3 separate regions of the Homo sapiens genome follow, and all the other regions are linked to region 2. Evidence: promoter capture Hi-C in human tissues and cell types (Jung and others, 2019). All regions are on one chromosome and are shown on one strand. Each heading gives the region's core, a stretch centred on a gene start or on the middle of the fragment in contact. The rest is flanking DNA. Distances are from core to core; before and after follow the strand shown. Region 1 holds the start of SNORD12B (small nucleolar RNA, C/D box 12B). Region 2 holds the start of KCNB1 (potassium voltage-gated channel subfamily B member 1). Region 3 has its middle 21 kb from the start of SNORD12.

What was found. Contacts are between HindIII fragments. The study calls those that stand out against the background at their distance.
Region 1: a contact is called between a fragment that was not itself captured here and the fragment with the promoter of KCNB1 in region 2, in 1 of the 25 tissues and cell types used here (IMR-90 fibroblasts).
Region 3: a contact is called between a fragment that was not itself captured here and the fragment with the promoter of KCNB1 in region 2, in 2 of the 25 tissues and cell types used here (H1 embryonic stem cells and bladder).

Annotation. Positions count from the first base shown.
Region 1 is chr20:49,280,253-49,283,041 of GRCh38, reverse strand. It overlaps ZFAS1 (ZNFX1 antisense RNA 1), which reads right to left. Exons shown (of 4, transcript NR_036658.2): 3 at 2,472-2,557. It overlaps SNORD12B (small nucleolar RNA, C/D box 12B), which reads right to left and starts at 2,729; the gene lies at 2,627-2,729. SNORD12 (small nucleolar RNA, C/D box 12) reads right to left here and starts at 2,359; the gene lies at 2,270-2,359. The HindIII fragment of the contact is 4,058 bases long and covers 1-2,789 here.
Region 2 is chr20:49,481,063-49,483,944 of GRCh38, reverse strand. KCNB1 (potassium voltage-gated channel subfamily B member 1) reads left to right here and starts at 1,277. Exons shown (of 2, transcript NM_004975.4): 1 at 1,277-2,031. The coding sequence starts at 1,465. The HindIII fragment of the contact is 16,129 bases long and covers 1-2,882 here.
Region 3 is chr20:49,300,716-49,303,543 of GRCh38, reverse strand. No RefSeq gene overlaps it. Among named protein-coding and RNA genes, the nearest start is that of SNORD12, 21 kb to the right of the region's middle. The HindIII fragment of the contact is 6,452 bases long and covers 1-2,828 here.

The DNA.
Region 1 (2,789 bases), core at 138-2,637, 200 kb after region 2:
TCCGCTCGCTAAACAAAGCGATTGTTATGCTTACGCACGTGGTAAGCCAGAGCCCCAGATTGTTCCCTTTCCACTCGGATCGTCCTCCAGCCGATCAGGCATTAAGTTGTATGGCAGCTCTCTTCCAAGACCCCACAACCTGGGGCAATAAGCTATGCCAAACTCTCTCGCTGCTGTTTCCTGAAGTCCCCTGAAGTCCGACACCCTGCGGGTCAGCCCCCGAGGGCCATCAAGCATCCGTCTTCCAATGCCAATTTTACCTCGTGTCTCTCACAGGGGGAGAACTTGAATTTGCTTGGAGACCTAACGAGATGCAGTGAGCTTAAGCCCTTCCAGGAGCTTACCAATCAGTCGTCCCTTATTCATCCCCAAGCAAACGTATGGTGGTGTTGTGGTGGACCATTACTGAATACTCTGCCAAGTTACTTGGCGTGGCACTTGAGCTCTAATCCAATTGGCTATCTCCCTTTCACCCTGGTATTTCATCCAGAAAACATACATAAAAACAGAACATCATAAAACAATGGATGTCCCTCGTGACTCTCATGTTTATATAGATGCCATTGGAATCCCACGAGGAGTGCCAGATAGATTTAAGGCCCAAAATCAAATAGCTGCAAGTTTGAATCCATGTTGTTCTGGTGGTCAACTCTAAATAAAAATGTAGATTGGGCCGGGAGTGGTGGCACACGCCTGTAATCCCAGCATGTTAGGAGGCTGAGGCGGGTGGATCACAAGATCAGGAGTTTGAGACCAGCCTGACCAACATGGTGACAGCCCCCAGCTACTCAGGAGGCTGAAGGAGAGTAGGTTGAACCCAGGAGGTGGAAGTTGCAGTGAACCATTGCACCATTGCACTCCAGCCTGGGCGACAGAGTGAGACTCCATCTCAAAAAAAACACAAAAAATGTAACCCAGCAACGATTCATTAATTATACTAGGGATGCTATTAAGGGAACAGTTTAACAATTAGGGCCCACCAGTCAAACGGCCTGAGAAAATACAATAGCATTAGACATGATACTAGCGGAGAAAGGTGTAGTTTGTGTCATGATTGGAACCCAGTGTTGTACTTTCATCCCTAATAATACTGCTCCCGATGGAACCATAACAAAGGCCCAAGGACTTACTGCTTTATCCAATGAGCTAGCTAGAAATTCTGGAATAAATGACCCCTTCACGATTTTAATGGAAAAATAGTTCCGCAAATGGAAAGGACTTACGTCCTCAATCTCCTGCCATCAGAATAGGTTTGCTCATTCTTGTAGGATGCTGTATCATACCCTGTATCTGAGGATTAATACAAAAGCTTATTTTAACAGCTCTCACCCACCAAAATCTTCCTCAATCCTCCCTCGCATCATTCAGTTAAGCTTCTAATTTCAGAGGACCAAGAGGAACAAAATCAAGACACGCTAAAACAAGTCTGAAGAGAAATAATTATAAAAATCAAAAGGGGGAAATCGTTAGATACAATGGATTTCTCTTCAAAGTTTTAACTTCCTTGTTCTTTGTTCTTAAGGTCAACTTCCTCATACCTTCCTGCTCCGAGTTACCCGTTCTATAAACAACTTCTCCGGCCAATCTCAACCTGTAACCTGTTCCCTATTTGGAAAAGTCCCCCTCACTCCTAGCAACCAGCTCTGTAAACAAGTTTCCTGCCCTTCCCACAGCTGTAACCCACATGCCTCCTGTTTAAAATAGCCAATCAGGACTAGTTTAGATTGCGCTGTCGACTCCAGCCAATGGGGATAGGACACAGAAGCAGGGACTACTTGTTAGGAATAAAAACCCTTTCTCTCTTTTGTTAGGTGTGCTCTTGCCAGGAATGCCAGCAGCAGCACCCTACGGCAGAAGTAAATTTGCCTTGCTGAGAAATCTTTTGTTCAAGTGCTCGTTTTCTTTGGAACTCCAAGCTCTTATTTCCAACAAAGACCTAGTAATACCAACAGGCCAATGTCAGTCCTAATGACTTATTCTCCCAGTTTTATACCCAACTTGGAAATGGGTCCTGAGGTTAGGCCCAGTTGGACAAATTTTGCGGTGGGGTTTGGCAGATAGAAAGCAGAAACCTCACCTGTTACAAGGCAGACTGAATCAAGCCAAGATCAACACACACTGGTACACGTGGCTCCCAACCTATAGAAAGTTAACAGGTCAAAAGAAGCCATCTGAATGCTGGAAAAAATAGAGAAAGCCCAGTTCCCATGAACAAGCAATAGTCTCTGATAAAGATAAGCAGAAAACAAAGATAGGAGTTATTACTGGGGCCAATGCATCAGACAAAACTGGCCAATAGTGTAGAGATCAACAGGGTCGATCTGATGGGGAAAGAAGCTGTATCATCAGCTGCAAAGGCCACATTTGAGTCGTACAAGAAGTAGGGTGACAAACCCACACTGAAAAGCAGCTACTACCCCCTCCAGAGCCTGTGTCTACTCAGCCAGGGAAGACGTGTTGGCACCACTTACCAATTTTATATGTATATATATATTCTACTTCCAACACCCGCATTCATCCTGGTTCAATCAAAGCCTGGTTTTGGCCAACAATAAACCTGAAATGAAAAAACAGAAAAATGAGCTCCCATCAGCTAGATGCCCAGGGGAGCTGGGACAAAGGAGCTGCTCAAGCTGGCATATCAGACAGAAACTGGCTTAGAAAAGTTAGATCAACATAGTCGATCTGTCGGGGAAAAAAGCTAAGTCATCATATATGCCAGCAGGAAGTTCTTGAGTGAGGAGTAAGATTTGAAAGCCATGAGGAGTAAGATTTGGTTGGTATGCTTC
Region 2 (2,882 bases), core at 28-2,527:
GGGGTGAGTGTTGGGGCGTACGGCCTTCCGTGGGGGTGCATGGGGACACGGACAGGGGGTTTGCCTGCCGCAGCTCGGCCTGTTGGTCTGCTCGGGCTCCGCAGCTCCAGGCTGGAGGGGAGCGGGGTGGGAGGCAGGCAAGGGCTGAGGCCTGAGGGGACGCGCAATCCCCATTCTGGGGCTAAGGCGTGAGCCCTACATGCAGGGGGTGCTCAGGGGAACCCCCCGAAATCACTAGTGCGCGGTAGGAGGATGGCACCTTTTGAAAAGGCCAGAAAATTTAGCTCATTTCCCCGCCTCCCACCTCCCCCACCCCTTCCCTTCCAAGCCCGGGGAAAGGCGCAGAACCCGGAGTTATAAAAAGCCATCGCGGGAGAGGAACGAGGAGGAGGAGTAGGAGGAGGAGGAGGAGGAGGAGGAAGAGGAGGAGGAGGGGGAGAAGGAAGAGGAGGGGGAGGAGAAGGAGGAGAAGGGGGCGGGGAAGGAGCGAGGGGAGGACGGAGCAGGCGGATCCCGAGGACTCTGCCCGCCCCTCCTGCGGTAGGGTTGGGGGCTCAGAGGGAGAGGCGAGAGCGGGCTTTTCCTCCTCGCGGCTCACCTTGTCGCTGGAGCAATCTCAGGAGATGCTCCAGTGTTTGGGAAGAGGGGTCGCTCCAGGACAGAGGGGCTGTTGTGCACACCCCGTCTGTTGTGACCTCGGACAGGTGGGCACCTGGAACCCCCGGAATTCCCCCAAATCTTTTAAGATTTGGAAAAAAGCCCGCTGCCATTCCCCCACCCCCAAAATCTTGATTATCTCGAGAAGGGGAAGGAAAAGAAGAGAACTCGTTAAAAAAAAAAAAAAGAAGGAAAGAAGAAGAAGAAAGAAAGAAAAAGATAAAGAAAGAAAGTTTTCATGCAGCTCCCCCTCTCTCCCCATGGCGGGGCCAGGTTCGGGACTCGATCGGGAGACCCATAATGAAGAGAGTTTCAGCACTCTAAGGGGCGGACAGCGCCCCGGGCGGCTGGGTCGCGCCTGGGCCGCAGAAGCCCAGGGTGGGGCCTCCCGGGCTCCAGGGGCATCTCTTGGGGCCCTCTCCCCGCCCCGAGGGGCGGCCCCTCCCTCCATCCATGGGGTGCGGCGGACTTCAGCACCGGCGGGAGGGACAGCGACCATCCGTCCTACCCCACTGAGCCGCTTAAGCGCGGGGGAAGGTCAAGGCCGGCTGGGAGCCTGGTGGAGAGGTGGGGGGCGGGGGGACAGCATGCCCAGCTCCCCGTTTGCTGACCCGCGTCCGCTTTCGCTTTCTGCCTCGCAGCCGTCGGGATGGAGGTGAGAAGACGGCCGTGACGCGCGCCCGCGGGGCCCCCTGCACCCCCAGCAGCCCACAGCGCTCCCTGCCCCCCTCCCCCGCAGCAGCGGGCCTTGCCGTCGAGTGACAGCGGCCTGGGGGGGCAGGGGGGGCGGGGGCGGCCGGATCAGCGATGCCGGCGGGCATGACGAAGCATGGCTCCCGCTCCACCAGCTCGCTGCCGCCCGAGCCCATGGAGATCGTGCGCAGCAAGGCGTGCTCTCGGCGGGTCCGCCTCAACGTCGGGGGGCTGGCGCACGAGGTACTCTGGCGTACCCTGGACCGCCTGCCCCGCACGCGGCTGGGCAAGCTCCGCGACTGCAACACGCACGACTCGCTGCTCGAGGTGTGCGATGACTACAGCCTCGACGACAACGAGTACTTCTTTGACCGCCACCCGGGCGCCTTCACCTCCATCCTCAACTTCTACCGCACTGGGCGACTGCACATGATGGAGGAGATGTGCGCGCTCAGCTTCAGCCAAGAGCTCGACTACTGGGGCATCGACGAGATCTACCTGGAGTCCTGCTGCCAGGCCCGCTACCACCAGAAGAAAGAGCAGATGAACGAGGAGCTCAAGCGTGAGGCCGAGACCCTACGGGAGCGGGAAGGCGAGGAGTTCGATAACACGTGCTGCGCAGAGAAGAGGAAAAAACTCTGGGACCTACTGGAGAAGCCCAATTCCTCTGTGGCTGCCAAGGTGAGTCTGGGATCTGGGGGCTGCTGGTCTGGGGGGATCTGCTTGCATCCCCATATTGAGGACCACTGCTGGAGGACTCTGGCTTTGTTCCCAACGATGAAGATTAGTAATGGGGAGGGGCTAGGACTGAGTCCCCAGAGGTGAGGACCAACCCCCTCAGACTTTTCCCATGTGGCACTGGTCACTCCATCTTTTTATTATCCAAGACGTTATACCCCTACTTGGTTGGAGAGGTTTCACAGGGACCCATAAAAAGCCACAGCAAGAAGATGGACACTGACGAATAAGAGAGAGAGCACAGAGAGACAACAGTGGCTTGCTGGGGTGGAGTAGGGTTTGCTTCCCTGTGAAGTCCCAGACCTAGGCTGGATTGGATCACCCTGTGATTTTAATATCTCCATATTTATAACCTCACTCTGCCCCAGCAAGGGAAAAAAGCAGCTTACAGACATGCTTACAGGACATTGAGATACTGTCAGATAGTTTAAACATAAGTAAGAAGGGACCCCGAGGGGTGGGTGTGGACCCACACGACACATGCAGTTGGTTGTGGATGCTTGCGGGTGAGGGGTCACCCCCTGGTTACTTATTTATTTGGTGAGTTTATTTCCAGAATGGTTTGGTGCAGCTTGTAAAGATGTTTCAGCTCTTGGAACAAGATGTAAATTTCAAAATAGGAGAGAAAAATGAGGCAATGTGAAAAATAAAGGAGGAGGAGGAGGAGGAGGCAGGAATGAGTTTGAACACAAAGAGTGGGCCAGAGAGTCTTTGGTGCTGCTGGGTAATGGCAGGGGCTGTAGGGGACTGAGGAAGGCTTGGGGTGGGAGCCAAGGCAGGGCAGGAGGGCACTG
Region 3 (2,828 bases), core at 224-2,723, 180 kb after region 2:
GAGCTAAATTAGGGAGCAGTAAGGTACCCATGTGACTTCCTGAGTGGCTAGCCACAGAGAGAAGAGATGAATGCCTGATACAACTGGAATTTTCCCAGCTGCTTCTGGATGCCACCCAACCCAAAACGCATATGGAACCATTAGACACACAGGCAAATGTTATTTTCACCGTTTTCTGCCAAATGTCTAGCTGACTCCACTGATAAATGATAAAGCTCAGGGTGGAGCCGGGTGCTTAATTTTCTCTGATGGTTCACTTTCCAGCTCAATTTCCCTTCCTGGCAGAGAGTTTGGGAAACTGGAACCCCATGATTTAGAGATGAGGAAAATTCCTCCTAAGCAAATGAAGCATGTTGAGTGTTTATGGAAATGTCTGGAGTTTGACATTTTTATTCTACTTTAACATGACTCCAGCTCTGATAAGTGTTTAACTGATGTCTGTTATATGTGTCTGAGTCCCAAGTTTATCATGAACAAGTTTTTCAGCAGCTGAAGAATGTTGGACAGAATTCTGTGTAGTGTTGCCGAGTTCATTCTCATCTCTGAGCCTTTGCACTTTCTGTCTCCGCTCCCAGAATGCTCTTCCCTTTCAGATTTTCTTGTGCCCAGCTCCTATTCATCCTTCAGATCTTGGCTCACATGTCACATCCTCAGAGAGGCCTTCCCTGAATACTGTAATCAAAGTAACCCTCTAGTAATTTTCAATTTTCTTTCCCATCCCTTTTTTTTGAGACACGGTCTTGCTTTGTTGCCCCAGGCTGGAGTGCAATGGTGCGATCTCAGCTCACTGCAACCTCTGCCTCCCAGGTTCAAGTGATTCTCATTCCTCAGCCTCCTGAGTAGCTGGGATTACAGGTGTGTGTCACCACACCTGGCTAATTTCTGTGTTTTTCGTAGAGAAGAGCTTTCACCAAGTTGGCCAGGCTGGTCTCGAACTTCTGGCCTCAAGCAATCCACCCGCCTTGGCCTCCCAAAGTGCTGGGATTACAGGTGTGAGCCACTGTGCCTGGCCTGTAAATCTCTTTAATGTCTGGGAGGCTGAAACACAAGAATTGCTTGAACCTGGGAGGCAGAAGTTGCAGTGAGCTGAAATCACACCACCACACTACAGCCTGGGCAACAGAGTGAGACTCTGCCTCAAAAAGAGAGAGAGAGAGCCTAAGGAGAGAGGACATCTAAATAGAACATGTTTCGACGTTAGCTCTTCATGCACATGTATTTTCATCACAGCACTGTTCACAATAGCAAAGACATGGCATCAACCTAGGTGCCCATCAGCAGTGGAATAAAGAAAATGTGGTACATATACACAACAGAATACTACACAGCCCTGAAAGAAAATGAAATCCCCAGGCACAGTGGCTCACACCTGTAACCCCAGCACTTTGGGAGGCTGAGGTTGGTGGATCACCTGAGGTTGGGAGTTCGAGACCAGCCTGACCAACATGAAGAAACCCCGTTTCTACTAAAAATACAAAAATTAGTCAGGTGTGGTGGCGCATGCCTATAATCCCAGCTACTCGGGAGGCTGAGGCAGGAGAATCGCTTGAGCCCAGGAAGCGGAGGTTGCAGTAAGCCGAGATCACCCCACTGCACTCCAGCCTGGCGACAGAGCGAGACTGTGTCTCAAAAAAAAAAAAAAAAAAGAAGGAAATCATGCCCTTTGCAGCAACATGGATGCAGCTGGAGGCCACTATCATAAGCAAATTACCACAGAAACAGAAAAACAAATACCATATGTTCTCACATACACATGGGAGCTATACATTGGGTACACGTGGACACATACAGATGAAACATTAGACACCAGAGACTACAAGAAGGGGAAGAGAGGGATGGGGCAGGGGGTGAAAAACCCCCTACTGGGTACCTTGCTCACTACCTGGATGACAGGCTTGAGGGGGAAGAGAGGGACGGGGCAGGGGGTGAAAAACCCCTTACTGGGTACCTTGCTCGCTACCTGGATGACAGGCTCAATCATACCCCAAACCTCAGCACCACGAAATATATCCTTGTAACAATCCTACATGTGTACCGCCTGAATCTAAAGTAAAAGTTGATATTTTTTTTAAATGTGCTCTTGGGTTAGATCTTAGACCATAACAAGGATATTAGTAGGAAAATTGGCAACATTTGAATGAAGTCTATAGAACAGATTGGTGATTCTTAAAGTATGGTGTTTAAGACACTTTCAGGGGGCTGCAAGGTCAAAAGAATTTTCTTTTTTTTTTTTTTGAGGTGGAGTCTCGCTCTGTCACACAGGCTGGAGTGCAGTGGCGCCATCTCGGCTCACTGCAAGCTCCGCATCCCAGGTTCACGCCATTCTCCTGCCTCAGCCTCCTGAGTAGCTGGGACTACAGGCGCCTGCCACCATGCTCGCCTAATTTTCTGTATTTTTAGTAGAGATGGGTTTTCACCGTGTTGGCCAGGATCGTCTCAATCTCCTGACCTCATGATCCACCCGCCTCGGCCTCCCAGAGTGCTAGGATTACGCGTGAGCTACCGCGCCCGGCCAAGAATTTTCATAATGATAGTAAGACTTTATCTTTTAACATTCCCCTGTGACATTTGCGTTAAATGGTACAAAAACAACAGAGGACAAAGCTGCTGGCTCCTTAGCATGAATCAAAGTGGTGGCACCTAATTCTATTAGTAATCACTGTATTCTTCACCCCTACAAGCCCACAGTAACAAGAAGAGAGCCAGTTTCACTTAGGAATGTCCTTGATAAAGCAGTAAAAATTGCTAATTCTATTGCATGTCAACCCTTGAATACACTTTTAAAATGTGTTTTTAAAATTCTGTGTGAGGCCAGACATGGTGGCTCA